3 separate regions of the Homo sapiens genome follow, and all the other regions are linked to region 2. The links are contacts of gene promoters, found by promoter capture Hi-C in blood cells and fetal thymus (Javierre and others, 2016). All regions are on one chromosome and are shown on one strand. Each heading gives the region's core, a stretch centred on a gene start or on the middle of the fragment in contact. The rest is flanking DNA. Distances are from core to core; before and after follow the strand shown.

Region 1 (3,896 bases), core at 989-3,488, 890 kb before region 2:
TCACCATATTGGCCAGGCTGGTCTCGAACTCCTGACCTCGTGATCCACCTGCCTCGGCCTCCCAAAGTGCTGGGATTACAGGCGTGAGCTGCTGCGGCCAGCCAATTTTCAAAAATTGATTCAATCCTTTTGGGAAACTGCCAGCAGTGTCTACTAAAACTAAATATACACCTATCATCCTATGACACAAAAATTCCTTTTATAGGTATATATCCTACTAAAATCAATTATTCATCATACTACATGAATGTTCAGAGCAGCTTTATGCATAATAGCCAAAAACTGAAAACAACCCACATACACATCAATGGTAAAAAGGATAAGTTAACTTAAGTATATTCATGCAATAGAATACTATTCAGTAATAAACAAACTTCAAACTACTGATACGTGTGATAACATGGAGGAATCTTACAGACACTACGGTGGGTGAAAAAAAACAGAAATGCAAAGGTGTCCAATCTTTTGGCTTCCCTGGGCCACACTGGAAGAATTGCCTTGGGCCACACATAAAATACACTAAAATTAACAATAGCTGATGGGCTAAAAAAAAAAAAAAAAAATCACATGGCGGGGCGCGGTGGCTGATGCCTGTAATCCCAGCACTTTGGGAGGCCGAGGTGGTCAGATCACCTGAGGTCGGGAGTTTGAGACCGGCCTGCCCAATATGGTGAAACCCCATCTCTACTAAAAATACAAAAATTAGCCAGGTGTGGTGGCACCAGCCTGTAATCTCAGCTACTCGGGAGGTTGAGGCATGAGAATCGCTTGAACCTGGGAAGCGGTGGTTACAGTAAGCCGAGATCACACCACTGCACTCCAGCCTGGGCAACAGAGACTCTGTCTCAAAAAAATAAATAAATAAATAAAGTCACAAAAAATCTCGCAATGTTTTAAGAAAGTTTACAAATTTGTGTTGGGCCACATTCAAAACCGTGGCCTGTGCGGGTTGGACAAGTTTGGAATAAAGCATAATGCTTGATTGCAATTACATGAAGTTTAAGAGTAGACACAACTCATACTTGGTAATTTAAGTCCAAATGAATAGTGGTTACCTCTGGGGAAGTACTACTGACCGGAAGGAGCAGTTGGAAACCTGGGGTGATGGAAATGTTCTAGATCTTGACCTAGGGGCTAATGACATGTGTATACATATGTAAAACTTCACCCAGCTGTCCTCTTAATTTCTGTGCGATTTATTGTGTGTAAATTATATCAGTTAGGAAAAAATAAGAAAAATGAAGGAATGATGGAGAAAAAAAGAAATGAAGAGAAACGTAACGAAGGAAGAAAGAAGGGAGGAAGGGAGGGAGGGAGAGAGGAAGGGGGGATTAAACCCAAGCACGGAGGGGGAGAGATGCTCCTCAAAAATATGCTATCAGTCATGTAGTGTTATTTATTTATTTATTGAGATGGAGTCTCGCTCTGTTGCCCAGGCTGGAGTGAGTGGCACGATCTCGGCTTACTGCAACCTCCACCTCCCAGGTTCAAGAGATCCTCCTGCCTCAGCCTCCCGAGTAGCTGCCATTACAAGCACACGCCATGGTGACCGGCTATTATCTGCATCTTAAAGATGGGGAAAGTTTGAGGTTTCCTGATGTGTTCAGCGTCACAGACTGGGTGAGTGACTCAAGCTGAGGCTAAAACCCAGGTGTGTAGGGCACCAAAGCCTTTGTGATTCCACCTCCTACAGCTCAGGTCACTTCCTCGGAGAAAGGTGACTCCTAGAAATGCCTCCCACCTGGAACTGATCTCCTCCTGGGAAGAACGTCTGTCTTATCGCCGTCGACCTTAGGCATGGACACCCTTCTGTCCCCCACCCACAACTGTGAGCCTGCTCAGGAGGCACAGCCGCGTTCATTCATTTTAGGCCTCCTCAAGGGCTCAGCGCCTGCTAAGCAGATGCGCGTTCCTGTAGGACAAGGGGTGGCCACTGGAGACGCGGGTGCGACGCAGGCGATCACGCCCTCGGACGACGCTGCGGACTGCGCTTCCTTCCGAAGAGGGAACCGTTGAGAAGAGTGAAGCGATGAGTTATGCCTCACTGGAAACCAACCGCGTCCGTGTGACTCACTTAGAAACTCACTGTTACATATTTGGAGCCTGAGCTGACGACCTTCCGGGTACACGTCAGGCAGAAGCAGGTGCGCGGTGGGAGTGTCCGCCCCGCCCCGCCGGTCGCGCCGGCCCCGCCCCCCTCACCTGCGCGCGCAACCCCACCCCAGCGCGAGGCTCTGCACCGGCCGCGCCCGCCATCCAGCTTTTATATGGCGCTATTTTGGTCGCGCGCCCTGATTGGCCGGGAGCGGGCGACGACACGCTCGCGCGCCTCAGGGAGGGGCCAAGATCTGGGGGAGGGGAGCTTCTGGCAGCCGCGCGGATCCGGGGGCGGCGGGGCGGGACTGCTGCGGTCTCTGGGGGTGCTTTGGGGCTTCTGTGCCTAGTCTGCAATCTGTTAGTGGGGTTATATTTTAATAAAAGAGCTTGTGTGTCCGAAGGGGATTTGCCAAGAACCAAACTCACCCTTCTGGGAGGGAGTTGCCAGATGGCGGGAACAGGCGGCGTAAACCTTACCAGACGTGAGCCCAGGCTGCTCAAGTGTCATTCGCGTCTTGAAGCTCTTGCCCGCCTCCCTTTGCAAGCGCGTCTAATGCCAACTCTACCTTGCCCTTTGCTAAACCAGCCCTCTAATGTGTTATCGTGCCTCACGTCAGACAATGGCTGGGCCTGTCTCTCTTTCCCCTTGGTTCTGTCCTCTGCCCTTCTCTTAAGCCAGAAGAACAAAACACTCCTTAGAATCGCTGGAGGATCTCATTTCCACCACATTCCCGTGTCCGGAGCCGAAGAGCCACGTCTGACCCTCACTGGTCTGGCTGTCCACCAATCAGGCAGCATTGCTTCTCTGAGTCTCAAGGTTATTAAATTTCTTCTGGTGGCAGACTGGTTTTGTACTTTGGTGAAAGTGACCAAATAGGTACGAAGTGTGATTCATCAAAAATTCTTACACTTAAAAAGATAAGCCAAAAGGATCATTCGAAGCCACCACTCCATATTAGATGGGAACTTAGCTTGAAAGGGGTTCTCTTAAGGATTTCTATTTACTTCTTTGAATTACAAATATCATCTCTGGTTGGAAAGCCTATAAACGCCTCTGAGATTTCCTGAGTTCACAACTTTGAAGATCATTTGCAGCTGGATGCAGAAAAAACAAACCTAGTAATTGTTGAATGTGGACATCAATAAGAATTAAGTACTTTTGGCCCAAAGGCAGTGGTTCACACCTGTAATCCTAGCACTTTGGGAGGTCGAGGCAGGAGGATAACCTGAGGTCAGGAGTTCCAGACCACCCTGGCCAACATGGTGAAACCCCATCTCTACTAAAAATACAAAAATTGGGTGGGCGTGTTGGCGCATGCCTGTAATCCCAGCTACTCAGGGCTGAGGCACCGAATTGCTTGAACCCAGGAGGCAGAGGCTGCAGTGAGCAGAGATCATGTCACTGCACTCCAGCCTGGGCGGCAGAGCAAGACTTGTCTCCAAAAAGAACTTTCAATGTGCCAGGCATTTTAAATGCTTAACAGGCATTTCATTTAATCCTCACAAAATCCCCATGACTTAGATACTATTATTATACCCATTTTACAGAAAGGGTCTAGAAAGCTTGCATAACATTGTGTCTGGACTTGGTTCCTGCCAGTGGGTTCGTGGTCTCAGTGACTTCAAGAATGAAGCCACAGACCTTCGCGGTGAGTGTTACAGCTCTTAAAGATGGCCGGGACCCAAAGAGTGAGCAGTAGCAAGGTTTATTGTGAAGAGCGAAAAAGCTTCCACAGCATGGAGGAGGACCCAAGTGGGATGCCGCTGCTGGCTGGGGTGGCCAGCTTTTATTCCCTTAT
Region 2 (3,604 bases), core at 695-3,194:
AAATGAATGCTAGGTTAAATGACAAATGTGGACTGCACATGAGTTGAAGACGAGCCAATTCCTTTCTTACATTCTCTGTTCTAAAATCTGGTATACTGTAATCACCACCGTGATGTAAATCTCAGCCCAAACTTCAGCTCCTAATGGAAAATATGCACTACATTACTGTCATTAATCATTTTTAAATCTTCACTTTTGAAAAAATAAAATCTCTTTTTTCTAAGCTGCTTCAAAGAATTCTTGAATGTGTATGAACTTGGCTTAATGTTGCCGTAATCCAACTGAAGGACATCTTAATCTATTTGATGAAACAGTAGTTTTGTACCATGAAATTACTCTTTCGCTTCCGATAAATGTGGTATGAAGTAGACATCTAAAATGGAATGGAAATTTCTGTGGTTTTCTTTCAAGGCCACACCAAATAACCAAACTTAGACTCTTCAGGACAGCACAAATTAGAATAATCTGAAAATAACTTAATCTACAATTCACTGCCTACTTTTGATGCTGAGACTACTGGAGACATTGTTTCAGTAATCAAGTGACTGAGAACAAGCTGGATAAATGCATGTTAATGAAATGATTAGGGAATCAGAAATAGGAGAGATAGTCCTTCCAAGACATACATCCGAACGGGAGTCGATGCATACAAATGTGAAAAGAAGGCTAGAGGCATCTACAAAGCAGCCTGCTGCATTTGCCGACCACCTCAAGTACGAGTGACCCCGGGCTGCACCTTGTTTAGCTAGGAATACCGGCAAGCTGTTACAGCTGGACGCCTAGTGGTGGGAGCTTACTCTCGGGTGTCCACATTTAGAAGTCTAACAATCAGACCTGGTTTCACGTGCTTTGGTGCTACCCAGGTTTTCCTTATAATGGTTAGCACAAAACAAGGGACCCAGGTTAGCGATACCAGGAAGCCACGCATTGAATGACATTACAGAAACAGCCACATAAAAGTCAGGTGGATGGTGTCACCTTGGCAAGCAACTTAGCCTCTTTAGGCCTCAGTTTGCTCATCTGCAAAATGGGGATAATAATAGCTTTTTAGTAGAATTGTGAGAATTAAGTGAGATCACGTACTAAAGCCCATAGCACAATGCCAGTTTCAAGGCTTCTGAAGTCCATAGGTGAAATTCGCTGGCTTGGCAGGATCTAAGACAGCATAAAGGTCATGGTATATTTGTTTACAAGTTCTATAAATTGCAGCACCGATGCTTCTCGACCAAGTATTTACGTGGGACAAAGCTGCCATCAGCGGTTTCTCCAGAGCCTATGTTTTGGGGCTTTTGTCCCCATCCCCTCCAGGAGTGGAGCCGCCAACACAAACCAAAGGGCAATCACTGGTTTCATCAACAGGTGCAAAAGAAAAGGCGCCAGGCACAGGGTCAGGCCGGCTAAGTCAACACCCCGGGATCCTCATGAATACGCAAAGCGCCCCAGCCGGCTATCCAGCAACCATATCCTCTGGCGGCGCGGGCCGGAGATCCCCGTGGAGGGGCGGCCGGCCTCCGTGCGCCACCGGCCCAGCCAGAGTGCTCTCTCGAGTCCCCAGCCCCACTTCATTCAAACAGCCACCCCTCTGCGCGCGACCCCTACGCCCCGGCAGTCCCAGCGCCGCCCGATCCCCTCGGGAAGGGGGGGTACCCGTCTTCCCGAGGCTGGGCGAATGCGGGCGCCCTCTCCTCCGGGCGTCGCTGCCCCCGGCCCGGACTCACCCAGCGTGGCCACCGTGCCGGCCTCGAACAGCAGGCAGTCGTCGCGGCCGCGCGCCTCCAGCAGCACGCTACAGTCCCCCTCGGCCCCCAGGCGCCCCAGCAGCCGCAGCCCTTTGCTCAGGGCCATGAGGGTCGGGCCCACTGCGGGCGGGGGCCGGGGCCACGTCCTCCCGAGGGCGCGCTGCCCGCGACAGCTCCCCGCGCGCCCGCAACTTGCCAGAGTTTCACTTTGCGCCGCCGCTCCCGCCGCGCCAGGCTCCTCCCCGGCCTCCTCCCCTTCCTCCTCCTCCCCACTCGCGCCTCCCCAGCCTGGGGCAGGTGAGGGCGCGCCGCCGCCTCCCGCCCGGCCCCGCGCTCCCCCCAGCGGCCAGGCAGCTGCGCGAGGCCGCGCCCCGGGGCTGAGGCTCCCCGCAGGCGGGCGTGGAGCGGAAGAGCCTCCCGGATGCCACGCATTCCTCGCTGCGGAGGAGGATGCCCCGCGCGGGGCGACCCCGGGAGCCTGGCTGCGATGCCGGCCGCCCGCAGCCTTATATGGGCAGCCCGGCCCGGGAGTCCGCCAGGCTGGACCCGCTGACTGTTCCCGCCGGGGGCGCTGCGCCTCCCTGTGTGGTCGGCTCCTGCGACCCTGGACGAGTCCTTTCGACCCTGCGTGCCTCGGTCTCCCTGCGGGGAAGCGGGGTCATAACTGCGCCTACTTCGGCGCGGAGGCCTGAGTTAATTCGCGGAGGCGCTTAGCGGGTGCGGAGCGCGTGGAGCGGGCTGGAGAAAGGTTACCTTTCACTAGCGTTCTATCCCGGAGGCTGTTGCGGTCACCGACCCCGCCAGGGAGAGGTGTTGGGGGTCAACGGTGCGTTGTCGCGAAGAGACCTGGAGCCGTGATCCCCAGACCACGACCCCCACTTACCACGTGACCCTGACTTCTCTGCGCTCCACCTTCCTCTCCTGTCAGATGGTGACAGCGCCTCTCCCACCGGCTCTGGACACCGGCACGTGTCCGCGCGTGTACGCTGGAGTGTGTGGCCCGGCCTTCTGGCGCGGGGTTCTAGCGCCCAGGCTTGGCCTGTCAGAGCTGCAGGGGAGGTGGGGTGGGTATGGGTGTTTAGGGCTGAGTTGGAGTCACTCTTTGGGGTGGTTTGGCGGCTTAATTCCCTTCGCTTGTGATGGGTACGTGAGGATGGCCCGAGAAGCCTCCATCAGCTGTTTCCATCCTGCCCGCAAACGAACTCAGTTCCTCTCTCACCCCATTCTGCTGTACTGGGCCAAGCTGTTTGTCTCTGGGACTTGTCCTAGAAAGGGCAGAGCCCCCAGAGCCAAGCAGAACACTGCCATGCCCCTGCAGACATTCAGTAATGACCAGACAAGCCATCCTCAGGGGACAACCTCTCAGGTGATGGTTGGGTAATAAATTTGAACAACCCCAGCAGAGATTATCTTGACCCTTAGCCCCTTTCCTTGCCCACAAACTCTGCCCAGGTCAAGCATGATGTGCTCAATATCCCAGGCATGATGCTCATCAGCTGTCCGAGCAGCTTCTTTCTGTGTAGATGGAAACATTACTACCTCATGAAAACAGTGTGCCCATTCAGTGAGGCAGATCAGCCTTTGGCCCACTTTTTGACCTGAAACTCACTTCTTCCAGGAAGCTTTCCTGGAATGCTGAGGTCCCAGATAATAGTGCTTATATAACACCCAGATTTACAGACTTCAGTTCTCACCTACTCATATGTTGCTTGAGAAGTGTTTTTATGTTTTCTCTTAGCCCTGTTTTGCAAATTGAGTGGTAAGGCCTTAGGGAGGGGACCCAGTCTTCCATTTATCTCTCTCTCCTCTTTCCTAACTAGCATCATATAGTCTAAAGTCCTGCACAGTGGCATGCCATACCTATT
Region 3 (3,488 bases), core at 385-2,884, 600 kb after region 2:
GCTCGCTCGCGCCCTCCCAGGCGTTGCCGCGGGTCCGAGCCCCCGCAGAGGTGGGCATAGCCCCGGGGCCGCAGAAAACGAAGGCAGCTGGGCAGGGATGCTCAATTTCCCGAGCCCCACTTTCCTTTCACAGCCCACTGGGATGTGTAGTTCTTCCGCCCGCAGGCCTGCGCCGAGGAGAAGCACGACTCGGGGCCTTAGAAACTACAAGTCCCTGCATCCCCCGCGACAAGGGCAGGAGAGGCGTGGTGCTGGGCGTTCTGGGGCTAGGTGGTGGGAGATGGGAACCAACAAAGGGGGTTGTGGGGAACGGTGCCTTCTCTGTACTGGGCAGTTTGCACGTTACACATGTTCTTTGTCTAATCTTCGCCGGAACCCGGTGAGGCATTATTGTATCCAGCTTAGAGAAAGCTTAACTACTGGCCAAACATCACAAAGCTCCCAAGTAGTAGAGATGGCATCGAACCCAGAGCCCTAAGTATGTCCCTTACAAAGCGTGCCTCAGTGAGGAGTGTCGAAGGGGGATGAGATTGGCTTATCCAAGAGGGCCAGTTGGGAGGAGCTGTGGTAAGGAAAAAGTGATGGGAATAGCAATTAGAGTATGACATGCAATTACAAGGAGTTTTGAATACAAGTGAAATTTACAGGGGTCCATTCCAAAGCCGGTTAGAGTCTAGGGAGAATGGATCTTAAGCACACGATAATAATTGGGTTTTAATTATTTTAGATATTGTATGAGAGACAAGCATATTACAGGGACAATTAAGTATTTGTGGCTGGACTAGTTTTAAAAAACCAACTGGAAAGCTTCATACATTTCAAGTGAAAGCTCTCATATGCTTTCCTGTCCTTTAGCTAATGAGATCAACGGGGTATTATTCTTATTCTGTTTATTGCAAGCACCTTTTCTGTGGGTGTCCAATTAATATAATAGATCCATTGATTTGATGGCATTAAAAAAGACTCCCACTCTTATTCTCAATGAAACCGAATTTTTCTGGCATTATGGTTATGCTTTTAAAAAGTCCTTCCTTGTCTGTTAGAGATATGTACTAAAGTATCTGCCAGCGAAATAATATAAAGTCTGAAATGTGCTTTAAAACACACCAGCCCATCCACTCCCCTCCTCCCACCCACCCAGCTCCAGACATGGAGGTATAAATGAAACAATTGGAAACTGTTGAAAATAGTTGACCTTGGGTGACATGTACTTGTACTTAATTATTTATTGCTGCAAATTGCCACAAACGTAGTGGCCTTAAAACAAGACAGATTTTTCTCACAGTTTTTATGGATCAGGTGTCCAGGTACACTCAGTCCCCCACTTAGGGTCTCACGCCTGCCATCAAGGGGCTGGCCAGGCTGCGTTCACATTCACTGGAGAAGAACTGGCTTCCACTCTGACTCCGGGCACAGGCAAAATTCCTTTCCTTGCAGCAGTAGGACCGAGGGCCCTGGCTTCTTGCTGGCTGGAGACTGGAGACTGTCCTCAGCTCCAAGAGGGAACCTGCAATTCCTAGAGGTTACCTGGACTTCATTGTCACTTGGGCTTTCCGAGCACAGCCACTTATTTTGTCAGGCCTGCAAGGAGAGTCCCCAGAGTGAGTCTCCAGCAAGACAGAATTTTATATAACATAAAGCAATCCCACGGGGGCAACTTCAAATGTGAACATTCTGTTGGCCAGAAAGCATGTTTTGCACACACTCAAAGGGAGAGGAGTACACAGGGCATGAACCCTAGGGTGAGGGACACCCCGGAGTGCATCCACCACAGTGTACATGAGAGTCCATTATGCTTTTCTTACCTACCACATCTACTCATGTTTATGTTTGACATTTTCCATAATAAAAAGAAATGAATTCGTTTTAAAATGTTACCTAAAGTTTCCACAGCAAATAAGATATGCTGATATGATTTCTAAATAGCTGATACAATTGTCTGTAGTTGTCTTCCAGGGGATAACTTTTTTCTTCCCACTCCATGTGTACTAAGACCTCTGCGGTTAATTCACTTGTATGGGTTACCCTCCCCTAAGAGCGTTCACTAGAACCTGGTGTGTGATAGCTGCAGAGTTCACCTCACCAGCTACAGTTGATCTTGAACAATATGGGTTTGAACAGCGTGGATGCCCTTAGACACGGATTTTTTTCAACCAAATGCAGATGGAAAATACAGCATCCGTGGGATGGGAAATGCGAGTATTCAGAGGGCAAAGGCCCACTCTTCCTATATGCAGGTTCTGTGGAGCCTGTTTAAGGACCTGAATATGTGCAGATTCAGGTATACGCAGGTGATCCTGGAACCAATCTCCTGAGGATACTGAGGGATGACTGTAAAACCTACTGTATAAGGGATGGTAGAGTTTATTCATTTATTTTACAGTTATCTATTTCAGGGCCTAGATTGTGCTAAGTACTGTTTTAGCAGCAGTGATACAAAAAGATCCAAGATAGAAGCTTATATTTGGGGACTGGGGGAGAGGTGGAGAGAATAAACAAATAAATAAATGACTAGTAAGACAATTTCAGAGAGTAATTACAAGAACGAAAAAACAAAGCAGGGTTATGGGATGGAGAGACTGGGGTCGGGCAGAGAATCGAATGATGGGAAGGGGCAAGTACCAAGTCCTCAAGGCAGAACAACCTGGAAAATTCTAGGGGTACAAAGAAAAACCAGTCTGGCTGGAGTGGAGCGAGGGCCAGGGAGAGAGGGAAAAAGGAACAGGAATTCATTCTGTGTGCACCAGCATCAATTCTGTATGCCACACTCTGTACCCACCATCGGTGTAAGTGTTGAGGGGTCTGAAAGAAAAATCACCGTCCTTGCCCTCCAGGAATGTATAGATTCCAAACTTTAATGCTAGAGGGACGTCAGCGTATCTAGAATTAGAGACCAAAACTTGTATTTCTCAAACAAGGACACTGAAAAGTCAAAAGACCTGCTAAAAATTCCTTGAGAATGCCTCGCCAATAACAAATAATCCAAAAATGAGTCTTGAATTGAATTGAAAGAGTGCATGATCTACTTTTGCTAAATGGGGTTTAGCCTAATACTGCCTCTTTACATATTTTAAGTTTGGCCTAAAGGTTTCTCTGTACACTGAACTGTAGCCTAAATGGAAGTGTAAACAGAGTGTGATCTACTCGGGTGTCAATTACTGAGTTTTGGCCACTCAATTGTGGCCAGCTGTTCAAACCATGTTCAAATAAGACAAATGCTGAGCTGTAACCATCTGGCTGTTTCCGTACCTCATTTCCGCTTTCTGTACGTCACTTTCTTTTTTCTGTCCATAAATTCTCTTCCACCACGCGACTGCACTGCAGTCTTTGAGGCTACCCTGGCTCAGGAGGCTGCCCAATTCATGAATCATTCTTTGCTCAGTTAAACTATTTTAAATTGAATTCAGCTGAAGTTTTTCTTTTAGCACTTTAAAGCTTTAGAAAATTGATAATGTTTAGTGCTTGTCACGTGCAGGTCAGTATGATGA

What was found. The method cuts DNA at HindIII sites, captures the fragments that hold promoters and counts their contacts. A CHiCAGO score of 5 or more calls a contact.
Region 1: the fragment with the promoter of LINC02901 here is called in contact with the fragment with the promoter of SYNJ2 in region 2 in 5 of 17 cell types (fetal thymus, non-activated CD4 T cells, naive CD8 T cells and 2 more); the score reaches 10.6 in fetal thymus.
Region 3: a fragment that was not itself captured here is called in contact with the fragment with the promoter of SYNJ2 in region 2 in 1 of 17 cell types (fetal thymus); the score reaches 5.8 in fetal thymus.

Annotation. Positions count from the first base shown.
Region 1 is chr6:158,868,156-158,872,051 of GRCh38, reverse strand. LINC02901 (long intergenic non-protein coding RNA 2901) reads right to left here and starts at 2,238. Exons shown (of 3, transcript NR_160980.1): 1 at 2,075-2,238. RefSeq lists enhancers at 1,245-1,918, 1,849-2,018, 1,919-2,591, 2,592-3,264 and a silencer at 2,099-2,418. The HindIII fragment of the contact is 6,622 bases long and covers 1-3,662 here.
Region 2 is chr6:157,980,203-157,983,806 of GRCh38, reverse strand. SYNJ2 (synaptojanin 2) reads right to left here and starts at 1,944. Exons shown (of 27, transcript NM_003898.4): 1 at 1,719-1,944. The coding sequence starts at 1,845. RefSeq lists enhancers at 1,663-2,178, 2,379-2,428, 2,449-2,638, 2,179-2,694, 2,659-2,708 and a silencer at 1,679-2,258. The HindIII fragment of the contact is 11,440 bases long and covers 1-3,363 here.
Region 3 is chr6:157,376,801-157,380,288 of GRCh38, reverse strand. LOC124901446 reads left to right here. Exons shown (of 1, transcript XM_047419644.1): 1 at 1-975. The coding sequence ends at 478. Among named protein-coding and RNA genes, the nearest start is that of ZDHHC14, 2.6 kb to the left of the region's middle. RefSeq lists an enhancer at 163-775. The HindIII fragment of the contact is 1,650 bases long and covers 810-2,459 here.